3 separate regions of the Homo sapiens genome follow, and regions 1 and 2 are each linked to region 3. Evidence: promoter capture Hi-C in 16 types of primary human blood cells and fetal thymus (Javierre and others, 2016). All regions are on one chromosome and are shown on one strand. The core of a region is centred on a gene start or on the middle of the fragment in contact, and the rest is flanking DNA. Distances in the headings are between cores, read along the strand shown. Region 1 overlaps PPP2R5C (protein phosphatase 2 regulatory subunit B'gamma). Region 2 overlaps PPP2R5C (protein phosphatase 2 regulatory subunit B'gamma). Region 3 holds the start of LINC00239 (long intergenic non-protein coding RNA 239).

Evidence for each region. Contacts are between HindIII fragments. The CHiCAGO score rates a contact against its expected background, and 5 or more counts as called.
Region 1: a fragment that was not itself captured here is called in contact with the fragment with the promoter of LINC00239 in region 3 in 1 of 17 cell types (total CD8 T cells); the score reaches 5.0 in total CD8 T cells.
Region 2: a contact is called between a fragment that was not itself captured here and the fragment with the promoter of LINC00239 in region 3, in 3 of 17 cell types (total CD8 T cells, total CD4 T cells and naive CD4 T cells). The highest score is 6.5, in total CD8 T cells.

What each region holds. Positions count from the first base shown.
Region 1 is chr14:101,910,195-101,914,141 of GRCh38, forward strand. It overlaps PPP2R5C (protein phosphatase 2 regulatory subunit B'gamma), which reads left to right. Exons shown (of 16, transcript NM_001352913.2): 14 at 2,207-2,279. Among named protein-coding and RNA genes, the nearest start is that of DYNC1H1, 52 kb to the right of the region's middle. The HindIII fragment of the contact is 2,907 bases long and covers 156-3,062 here.
Region 2 is chr14:101,864,952-101,868,893 of GRCh38, forward strand. All of the region lies in intron 4 of PPP2R5C (protein phosphatase 2 regulatory subunit B'gamma), which reads left to right. Among named protein-coding and RNA genes, the nearest start is that of DYNC1H1, 98 kb to the right of the region's middle. The HindIII fragment of the contact is 3,689 bases long and covers 777-3,942 here.
Region 3 is chr14:101,728,102-101,731,808 of GRCh38, forward strand. It overlaps LINC00239 (long intergenic non-protein coding RNA 239), which reads left to right and starts at 2,336. Exons shown (of 4, transcript NR_026774.1): 1 at 2,336-2,386; 2 at 3,256-3,367; 3 at 3,687-3,707. LINC02320 (long intergenic non-protein coding RNA 2320) reads right to left here and starts at 3,205. Exons shown (of 6, transcript NR_184269.1): 1 at 2,953-3,205. RefSeq lists enhancers at 2,771-3,707, 3,013-3,072. The HindIII fragment of the contact is 16,455 bases long and covers 1-3,707 here.

The sequences.
Region 1 (3,947 bases), core at 359-2,858, 180 kb after region 3:
CCAGGGATGATCTAAGTGACAAAGTACTTCGTCCCTAGGCTGTGCAAGTAATAATGTGATTAAATAGTTGTTGGAGGTCACTTCTTCCAAGTTGAGTATGGACTATTGGCAGATTTTATTTTTTGCTTGTCACTTAAAACTGGCTAAGGTAGATAAGCTTTGCACGAATGTAATTCAAAATACACTGTATACATATGTGTGTATCTATGTGTGTGTGTGTGTGTGTATATATATGAAACAACTGCCATTTAGTCATTCCTTAGACAAATATGTGAATATTTACCTTATACACCAGGCCCTGTTTTAGATTCTGGCAATATAGCAATGAATAAAACCCACAAAAATCCTTGCCCCTGGGCCGGGTGCGGTGGCTCACGCCTGTAATCCCAGCACTTTGGGAGGCCAAGGCGGGTGGATCACAAGGTCAGGAGATTGAGACCATGCTGGCTAACACGGTGAAACCCCATCTCTACTAAAAAATACCAAAAAAGGGCCAGGCGTGGTGGCTCATGCCTGTAATCCCAGCGCTTTGGGAGGCCGATGCAGGCAGATCACGAGGTCAGGAGATCGAGACCATCCTGGCTAACACAATGAAACCCCGTCTCTACTAAAAATACAAAAAAAAAGGCCGGGCATGGTGGCTCATGCCTGTAATCCCAGCACTTTGGGAGGCCAAAGCAGGCAGATCACCTGAGGTCAGGAGTTCGAGACAAGCCTGGCGAACACAGTGAAACCCCGTCTCTACTGAAAATACAAAAAATTAGCCGGGCGTGGTGGCAGGCGCCTGTGGTCCCAGCTACTCAGAGTCTGAGGCAGGAGAATGGTGTGAACCTGGGAGGCGGAGCTTGCAGTGAGCTGAGCTCACACCACTGCACTCCAGCCTGGGAGACAGAGAGAGACTCCGTCTCAAAAAAAAAAAAAATACAAAAAAAAATCAGCCGGGTGTGGTGGCGGGTGCCTGTAGTCCCAGCTACTCGGGCTGAGGCAGGAGGATGGCGTGAACCTGGAGGCGGAGCTTGCAGTGAGCCAAGATCACGCCACTGCACTCCAGCCTGGGCGACAGAGCGAGACTCCGTCTCAAAAAAAAAATCCTTGCCCTTTTGGGGTTTATATTCTGGGTAGTGTGGGGAAATAAAAGAACACAAAATACACCTAAGTGAACTATAGAGCATGAGAGATGACAAGTCAGTCAGGAAAGGGCCGGGGAGACAGACCAGCCATTCCTCTAGAGCTGCCAGCTGCATGGTCTGTTCTCATCTCAGCTCTCAGTGCAGTTCGCAGGTAGGAAGCATGCAAGCAGCAGGGCCTTCTGATGGCAGATCCTCCTCTCGTGGAATCCCACAGCTTTCCCAACAGGACCTTAAAGGTTGTGTAGTACATTTTCTGGGTTGAAAAACTTGGATCCTGGCCGGGCGCAGTGGCTCACACCTGTAATCCCAGCACTTTGGGAGGTTATGGCTGGTGGATCATTTGAGGTCAGGAGTTCGAGACCAGCCTGGCCAATATTGTGAAACCCCATCTCTACTAAAAGTACGAAAATTAGCCGGGCGGTAGTAGCACGCACCTGTAATCCCAGCTACTCGGGAGGTTGAGGCAGGAGAATTGCTTGAGCTCGGGAGGTGGAGGTTGCAGTGAGCCAAGATCCTGCTACTGCACTCCAGTCTGGGCGACAGAGTGAGGCCCTGTCTCAAAAAAAAAAAAAAACTTGGATCTGAGTTAAGCGATTGAAAGTCATGTGACTCGCAGTGGAGTCAGTCAACAACCCAGGTCTCCTGGCTCTTAAGACGTTTCCTTTTTAATATTATAGGAATGGGAATGCTGGCTCCTTTTACAGTACTGGTCCCTTTACACTGTACTGCATACTCGTTTTTTCAGTGGATATATGAGCTTCTTGTCAAAATTATGTGGGTCCCATGAAGAAACATCTAACCAGGGGAAGGGGGAAGGATTGAGACATAAGACGTACTTATATAAGATTTCTTTTAAGAATTCCAATCTTGGACATGTTAAATTTTTTTATATTTTCTCATGTTTAAATCTCAGTTCGTTTTTCATGCTGTGCTCAGCACGTAAGTGTGGGGAAATGGAGCAGGGGGGCTGCGGGAGGAGCCGCTGGCTGGGCTCAACATGCCTGTGCCTTTTCCCCTTCAGTGTGTTCTTGTGTCTGATGCATCTCTAACACAGATGACATTTTACTGTTTTTCAGAGAGAAGCTAAAAATGAAAGAACGGGAAGAAGCATGGGTTAAAATAGAAAATCTAGCCAAAGCCAATCCCCAGGTACTAAAAAAGAGAATAACATGAAAACGCCCAGGGTTACTTGAATGTTTTTATAAGATAGGAATATATGTCTTCACCATGGGGGGGGTCTCGATTTCACTAACGTTGTATATGAAAATGTCTGCAATAAAAAGTACTTTTAAACTTTGTAACCCTCCTTTTGTACAAGTACTTATTTTGCCCCATATCGTTTTACCACAGAATTGACTTTTTTCCTCTGCTTTTTAAATAAGATCTGAATCTTATGCATATACTGTGGTAAAAAGAAAACTTGAATACAGCCTGAGACTGTGCCTCCTCTCTCAGATATCATAGATGCTGTCACTCAAACAGCATTTCCCTTTCTTTTTCATATGAAATTAGTTCTAAAAGAAAGGAAATTAGATTGGAAATAGATTAAGTATGACGTTTTGATGTCCTCTTTCTTTGTATGAGGTTTCTGTAAGCCCAGCCTTTTATCATTAAAAATCAGCTGAATTCTGCCACATTAGCAGCCAACCCTCCTTCCCACCCCAGCAGCGGGTGCCAGTGTGCTCTGGTGAGTCTGCGCCGATGGCCGGACGTCCCGGAGCTGCCGGCAGTTCCAGCTGCCGGGGCTGCCAGGGTCCGGGAGGGTTTCCTGGTGTCATGGTCTTTGGGTTTGATGTACGCTGCTGTAAATGACTAGAGCGTTATGACAGTTTCTTCACGTTCTGTGTGCCTGATTATAACAGTGCCTCTTAAAAAGAAAATCTTTTTCAGAAAATCTTTTGTCTGAATCTTTGCCACTCTTAAGAATTCTCAAGCTTTCCTTCAACTCTCCAGAAAAGATTTTACCGAACAATGTATTTCTTTTAGTGAGAGATATGCATAGTTACCTAAGTTGGTTTTTAGATTTCTCTGACACTTAATAAAAAGTTATACATGAATATAAAGTTAAAAGTATATCTTTACCTATATAACAACATACTGGTTTGTATACTCTGATAAAACTGCAATCAGGAAACTCAAATCAGGAAAACGGAATGACATTTCTAATTGTGAGCCCTTGAGTCCACCTAAAACAGGTAGCCAGCATTTTTCTAGCAGTTATTTACTCATGCTGACAGAAATGCTGTTTTAAGATTACTGTCTAAAACTGTATAATCCTTAATTGAGGTAGGTAGCTATAGGCGTCTCCTTTTAACGAATTGAATTTATGTTGAAAGTGTGGTTAAAATACTGATATTTGTTTTAAAACATGGTAACACTATAAACCTGGGCAAGTTTATAAGGCCCAGCCCTGCCTGACGCTGCCCTGCGTGTCTTGCTTTGTTCTGAAGAGCCTCAGGCAAAGTGGGTGCTGATAGCCCTCAGGATTGTCAAGGACCCCAGTACACATGCAGTTGAAATCAGTAGCCTCGAAAACATGTGAGAAATGAATACACACACACACACAAACACACACACACGAATCAGAAGGTCTGATTTTATGTACCTAGAATATAGAGATAACTTATTGAAAAATTGCATAAAATTGTTACATTACAAATCAAGAGCTGGTTGTTTGTGTTGACAAACATGGCCCAGTTTCACTACTGCACATACTGTACGTAACCAATGTTTCTTCTGAAATACGTATTGTTCTCTTTTTTCTTTTTCTCAACTTTTCCTGAATGTTCTCAAGTAACTTTCTGTATTCTTTTTGGT
Region 2 (3,942 bases), core at 1,371-3,870, 140 kb after region 3:
TGGTGGAATGAGCCAAGCGGCTTTGATGGCAGAGAGAAATGGGCAAATGCAGAGATGTTAAGAAGGTAGAAACACGATTCGGGGTGGATTTGTTTGAGATTCCTGGGGAGAGGAACCAACGCGCAGGTTTCTGACTTGAGCAAGTGGAATGCTGGTTCAGGGGAAAGAGCATGGGCCCTGGTGTAGGAAAGGCCTGAGGTGGGTCTCATCTGCTAACATTATTTAGAGCTCTTTGGGTTAACGGGGGCAGGCACCCAATTCACTGTTGTTTACACTCACAAGGGAGTTTACCAGGCAGACACTGGGTCTCTCACACTTAGTCCACAGAGTCACAGGGACAGCTTTTCCTTCCGTGTCCCATGTCCCCGCTCTCTGTATGCAGCCTTCCTTCTTTGGGGCATCCCTCTATGATGACAGAGGAAAGCATGGCCCTTGCTGGCTTGCCAGAAGAGGCCTGATGTCTCCTGTCTCCTACCTGCCCTTGATCCCGTTGCCGTAACTAGGGAGATGGGGTACTGTGGTTGTGACTCAGACTGGGTCATGTGCCCACCAAACCATGCGATAGAGTCAAGGAGCAAGAATTCCCCAGAAGGGAGGGAGTCGTGTGCTTCTCTGGGCAGATGAAACGGTCGGATCTGTACCCAACTTTAATCTGCTAACTGTGCTACTTTGGGTGAACGGCTTGGTTCTGCAAGCTTGGTTCTGTCTGCTGCAGACAAATAGCTGTAATGCTTCTGCCTCACAGAGCAGCTAGGATGAAAGGGGAACACATGGAAAGCTTGGGCAGCCCCCGTGACAAAGTTGTCAGTGTCCTCGGAAGTGGCCAGAAAGAGACAAGCCTCCAAGATTTCTCAGAATGCTTACCAGGGGGACGCCTCAATGCAGCCTTCTTTCTTCATATTCGTACGGGACTTATTTCTAATTCTCGCTCCAGACTCTGATATCTTGAGGTTACTTAACTTTTTTTTGAGACAGAGTCTTTCTCTGTCGCCAGGCTGGAGTGCAGTGGCGTAATCTCGGCTCACTGCAACCTCCCAGGTTCAAGTAATTCTCCTGCCTCAGCCTCCCAAGTAGCTGGGATTACAGGCATGCGCCACCACACCCAGCTAATTTTTGTATTTTTAATAGAGACAGGGTTTCACCATGTTGGCCAGGATGATCTCAAACTCCTGATCTCAGGTGATCTGCCCACCTCAGCCTCCCAGAGTACTGGGATAACTGGCGTGAGCCAGCGCCCAGCCTCTATTTTCTTATTTAGAAAGTTATCATGCTGTGGAACTACTTCATAGAGAGTTAGTTAGATTAGTTTAAATGGTGATTGGAAGATTAAAAATACATGGTCTGAAGTATGATTTCATGTTTGTAACATATAAATAAATTCATGAAAATAAAATCAAACTTAGGGAGAGAAAGTAACTTGTGAAATACTCTACAGAGTACGGTGACCCAGCCCTGTGGCACCATCCACACCACAGATTGATTTGGTTCCATTTTATCGATAGATTTTTAAAATAAAGCTGAAGGCCTCGCCAACATGGTGAAACCCCATCTCTACTAAAAATACAAAAATTAGCTGGGCATGGTGTTGCACACCTGTAATCCCAGCTACTTGGGAGGCTGAGGCAGGAGAATCGCTTAAACCCTGGAGGCGGAGGTTGCAGTGAGCCAAGATCACGCTACTGTGCTCCAACCTGACGGACAGAGCAAGACTCCGTCTCAAAAAAATAAATAAATAAATAAAAAAGCTGAAGGAATATAGTACAAACTGTTAATAGTAGGTGTCTTTGGGTGGTATCATTAATTTTTCCCTTTTACTATACACTTTTGTAATTTTTAAAAAAATTCAGAATGGGCCAGGCACAGTGGCTCATGCCTATAATCCAACTTTGGGAGGCCAGGGCAGGAGGATCACTTGAGATCAGGAGTTGGAGACCAGCCTGGGCAACGTAGCAAGACCTTGTGTCTACAAAAAAAATTTTTTTAGGCCGGGCACGGTGGCTCACACCTGTAATCCCAGCACTTTGGGAGGCTGAAGCGGACAGATCACCTGAAGTTAGGAGTTCAAGAGCAGCCTGGCCAACGTGGTGGAACCCTGTCTCTACTAAAATTACAAAAATTAGCCAGGCGTGGTGGCGCATGCCTGTAATCTCAGCTACTCGGGAGGCTGAGGCAAGAGAATTGCTTGAACCCAGGAGGCAGAGGTTGCAGTAAGCTGAGATCATGCAACTGTACTCCAGCCTGGGCGACAGAGCGAGACTCTGTCAAAAAAAAAAAAGCAAGAAGAAAGAGAAAGTTTTTTAATAGCTGGGTGTGGTGGCGCACGCCTGCACCTATATGCCTAGCTACTCGGTCGGGGCTGAGGTGGGAGGCTTGTTTGAGCTCAGGAGCTTAAGGCTGCAATGAGGTATGATTGTGCCACTGCACTCCTACCTGGGCAACAGAGCAAGACTCTGCCTCAAAAAAAAAAATTAATAATTATGTACCACATTTGTCATCATCAAAAACCAGTAAAGATATTTTTCTTTCTTAAAAATAAAAACAAGCGGCCAGGCGCGGTAGCTCATGCCTGTAATCCCAGCACTTTGGGAAGCCGAGGCAGGTGGATCACCTGAGGTCAGGAGCTCGAGACCAGCCTGACCAGTATGGTGTAACCTCATCTCTACTAAAAATATGAAAATTAGCCAGGCATGGTGGCGGGCACCTGTAGTCCCAGCTACTCGGGAGGCTGAGGCAGAAGGATTGCTGGAACCCTGGAGGTGGAGGTTGCAGTGAGCCAAGATTGCACCACTGCACTCCAGCCTGAGCGACAGAGCAAGATTCCATCAAAAAAATTAATTAATTAATTAAAAAGATAAAATAAAAACAAGCTATCCGTATGTAATATAGTACTGTTTTTATCAGGACTCTTGTTGGTTTCCAGGGAAAACTAGTTGATCACATTATTTTAATCCGCACTGTCTGTAAGTGATTTGATGTTGACTTACACGTTTTATGGGCATGAGAGTGTTCTTAGGATCTGTTGGCCGGGTCCTGGGGGAGGTCTCACACCCTGCACCCCCAGATGGGTGTCCTGTGCTTCACTTAGGGACTGATGTGGGGCACGTTCCTTCTTCTATTTTTATAGCTGATATTTACAGTGTGTTCTGGAAAGTTTTACTTGCTATAAGGGTGATGATAGTTTGGGAGAGGAAAGAATGTGTTGAATTAAGAGGGATAGTACATTGACCAATGGAGTTGCAGTCAAATTTATTTCAAGTGAGGATTTAAATCATGCATTCCCAAGTACTTTTTGAAATCCAGAGAATGATTTTTCTACTTTAAATATCAGTAAGCTGTTTTTTAGAGGTTTGTTTGTTCTTACGATTTTGAGATTTTCCTTTGATGTTTTTAAATTATAAAAGAAATACATGCTTATGTGATAACAAATGAAACAAATACGAAAGCATTTTAAAAAGTTAATCTTTTTCCTACTTCACCCCTCCCCAGTTCTACCCATCTCTACCTCCAATCAGCCAATTCATGTTTATTGTATTTTCAGAAGGCTGCTGAGAAACTTTTGGGATGATGAGTATGTTCATTATCTGATTATATGATTGTTTCACAGATATATGCATATGTTAAATATCAAATTTTACACTTTAAATATGTACATTTAATTGTATATAAATTATATCTCAGTAAAGCTGGGTGTTTTCAGATGTCCAAACTTGTTAGGTATTTCTTTTGGTCTAGGGGTGCAGTGAAGAAATTACTAAGACACCAAGGGCATTGTGAACCAAGAAGTTTTGGGAACTTATGACCTAGTGAATATCTTTCCATAACTTTTTTTAAATTAATTTTTTATTTACATATAGTGAAATTCACTCTTTCTTGTGGCCAGTTCTCGGAACTTTGATAAATGTGTATAGTCACGTCTTCCGCACCACAGTCAGGATATAGAAC
Region 3 (3,707 bases), core at 1,086-3,585:
GGGAGGGACCCGGTGGGAGGTAATTGAATCATGGGGGTGGTTACCCCCATGCTACTGTTCTCATGATAGTGAGTGAGTTCCCACGAGATCTGATGGTTCAATAAGGGGCTTTCCCCCTTTTTGCTCGGTACTTCTCCTTGCTGCTGCCATATGAAGATATGAAGAAGGACATATTTGCTTCCCCTTCTGCCATGACTGTAAGTTTCCTGAGGCCTCCCCAGCCATGCTGAACTGTCAGTCAATTAAACCTCTTTCCTTTGTAAATTACCCAGTCTCGGGTATGTCTTTATTGGCAACGTGAGAACGGACTAATAAAATCTCTCTCTCCCTTTCTGCTCTCCTTTATAGCAAGACTCTTTGGAAGTATCCATCTGGGCCAGAGTGCAGTGGCATACTCACAGCTCACTGCAGCCTCGATCTCCTGAGCCCAAGCAATTCTCGCACCTCAGCCTCTTAGTAGCTGGGACTACAGGTGTGCACCACCACTCCCCGCTAATTTGTAAAAATTTTTTGTAGGCCGGGCGCAATGTCTCATCCCTGTAATTGCAGCACTTTGGGAGGCCGAGGTGGGCGGATCACCTGAGGTCAGGAGTTGGAGACCAGCCTGGCCAACATGGTGAAACCTTGTCTCTAGTAAAATACAAAAAATTAGCCAGGTGTGTTGGCGGGCACCTGTAATCCCAGCTACTCAGGAGGCTGAATGAAGAGAATTGCTTGAACCTGGGAGGTGGAGGTTGCAGTGAGCTGAGGTTGCACCACTGCACTCCACCCTGGGCTACAGAGCGAGACTCTGTCAAAAAAAAAAAAAATTAAAAAAAAAATTTGTAGAGACAGAGTCTTGCTATGTTTCCCAGGTTGCTCTGGAACTCTTGGCCTCAAGCAATCCCTACCTCAACTTCCCAAAGTGCTGAGCTTATAGGTGTGAGCCCCTGCACCCAGCTGGAAGTATCTATTCTTATTATCTTCAATTTTTCTCCTCCCATTTTCTCTTGAACCTTTTCAATCAGTATTTGCCTCCTACCACCACATTGAAGCCCTCCAGTGGCTTCCCTATTTCATTTGGGATAAAATCCAAAGTCTTGGCCAGGTGCGGTGGCTCATGCCTGTAATCCCAACACTTTGGGAGGCCAAGGTGGGCAGATCACTTAAGCTCAGGAGTTCAAGACCAGCCTGGGCAACATGGTGAAACCCCATCTCTACAAAAAGTACAAAAATTAGCCATGTGTAGGGGCGCATGGCTGTAATCCCAACTACTTGAGGTGCTGAGGCAGGAGGATTGCGTGAACTTGGGAGGTCGAGGCTGTAGTGAGCCAAGATCATGCCACTGCACTCCAGCATGGGTGACAGAGCGAGACCTTGTCTCAAAAAAGAAAAATAAAGCCAGAGTCTTCGCAGTGCCCACAAGACCCTACGTGACCTGATCTCCCATGACTCATTGCTCCTCGACAGCCACCACTCCGTTCCATGGAGTAGCCCAGGCCAACTGCTCTGCAGCCAAACTCAGGGAAACTTGGAGAACATGTGTGGACCAGAGGACCCCTTCCTCCTGGCTACCAAAAGAACCCCCAAATCCTGCAGCCCACCAGCTGTGTGCCCAGACACAATCTGGAGTAGAGGAGTAGACAGTGGCAGCCATCAGAAGCCCCACTGGCCAAACACTTCAGCCTCAGAATGCTGAGCTGCTCAAAGAACTGGTTAAATGTTTGTATTAGACCAAGGTTACTAGAATGGATGTTTCTCCCCATTGTATTACCCAGCAGAGAGTACCTTTCAAGAAAGATCAGATTAATTAAGTAGGAAAATGAAGACACTCTATTTTCTTTGCACATCTGATGTATTGTGAGTGATTTTGTGACCCTGCTACGTGCACGCATATGCACAGAAAAAAAATATCTTAGAATGTAGACCAAAATATTAACAGTGGTTATGGATGAGTGATGGATGAGTGAACTAACTATAGATTTGGAAGGATATTGTCTGTTTTAAAAGAAAATGAACACTTTCACTCCCAAACAAGACGGAATGTAGAGACTGGATTTCCTCTCCTGCCTGAAAAAGTCAAAATAAATTGGACCAAATATATAAAACAAGAGTTCTCAAGACACTGGATGATATGGTTTTGCTATGTCCCCACCCAAATCTCATCTTGAATTGTAGCTCCCATAATTCCCATGTGTTGTGGGAGGGACCTGGTGGGAGATATTTGAATCATGGGGGTGGTTTCCCCCATACTGTTCTCGTGGTAGTGAACAAGTCTCACGAGATCTGATGGTTTTATAAGGGGTTTCCCTCTCCACTTGGTTCCATTCTCTCTTGTCCACCACCATATAAGATGTGCCTTTCACCTTCTGCCATGATTGTAAGGCTTCCCCAGGCCCGTGGAACTGTGAGTCCATTAAACCTATTAAACCTGTTTTTCCTTATAATTTACCCAGTCTCGGGTATGTCTTTATCAGCAGCATGAGGACAGACTAATACACTGGATATCAGGTAACTAGGCACAATGATTTCTGAGAATGTGGAAAATAAAGTGAGCCTGCAATTAACCCAGCTTCCTTTCTTGAGAGGGTTTCCAAGCTACAGTATGGACAAGGGTACCCAGGTGGGGCCTGGCAGGCTCTTCGAGTTGGGAAGACAGAGCTGAGAGTCCAGGGAGACTCTGGTCACAGGTAGGGGCAGGGGGGTGATGCTGAGAGCCCCTGGGGCATGCCTGCCCTCTACAAAGCTCGTGGTTGAATGCAGGGAGGTGGTCTGGGGGTGGACTTGGGCAATGGGGAGGCTGCATGGGTTAGAGCCAAGCTCTCCCCTCTTCCAGTCTGTCTGGGCCTCTGCAGCTCCCGGTAACTTTGCACTGATTCCAGAGACAGTGATTGCTCAGGTACCCAGGTCTGGGTGTAATTAAAAAAAAAACAAAACAACAACAACAACAACAACAACAACAAAAAACCAAACCTGGCTCTTGGTGCTTTCAGAGATGGCTCAGAGCAGGAATTCTCTAGCTTTGGGGTGCATCCTCAGAGGTGGGGGGGGGCTTGCTGAAAAGACAGGTGTATGGTCCCACCTCAGGCCTGCTGAACAGAAGCTCTGGAGCAGGCTCAGGAGTTTCTTTTCTAACAGGCTCCCCGAGAGATCCTAGCAAATGTTTGCACAACACTCACTTGGAAGCTATGTGACCAAAACCATGATCACAGGGTTGTCCCTGAACACGGTGGGGAAATAACCTCTCCCTTAAATCTCCCCTGCGTGGTGACTTAGGGGAGGAGCCGGAAGAGAGCAGTGCTTCACAATAAAAGGAAGAATTGCTTGAACGGAGGCGTTTCAGGCATGAGTCACAGGCCGGGTGTGGAAGAGGAAAGTGTGAAGCAAGGTAGGCTTCCCAGCACCCCTCCATGCACAGCAGGGGCTGGCCAGCCTCAGCCAGGCCAGATGGAGCCCTGGAGGGTGGGGCTGGCTGCCCAGCTAGAGTGTCTCCTTTTACTTCCAGCAGGAAAAAAAGGCCTCCTGTCAATAGCAGAATCATCTACGTTTTCCCTGCCTTCCTCACTTAAATGCTTTCGAGGAGTGGGAGGAAGAAATTGGAGGCTGGAATGAATACCCTTTGCCCTCCTCTGAAAGCAGCCTGGGAGGGGTGACGGGGTGTAGGAGCAGAGACTTCAAGTGGCCCCCACCTGCCAAACCATTCTCAGGGACAGGTACCAGCTGGGATG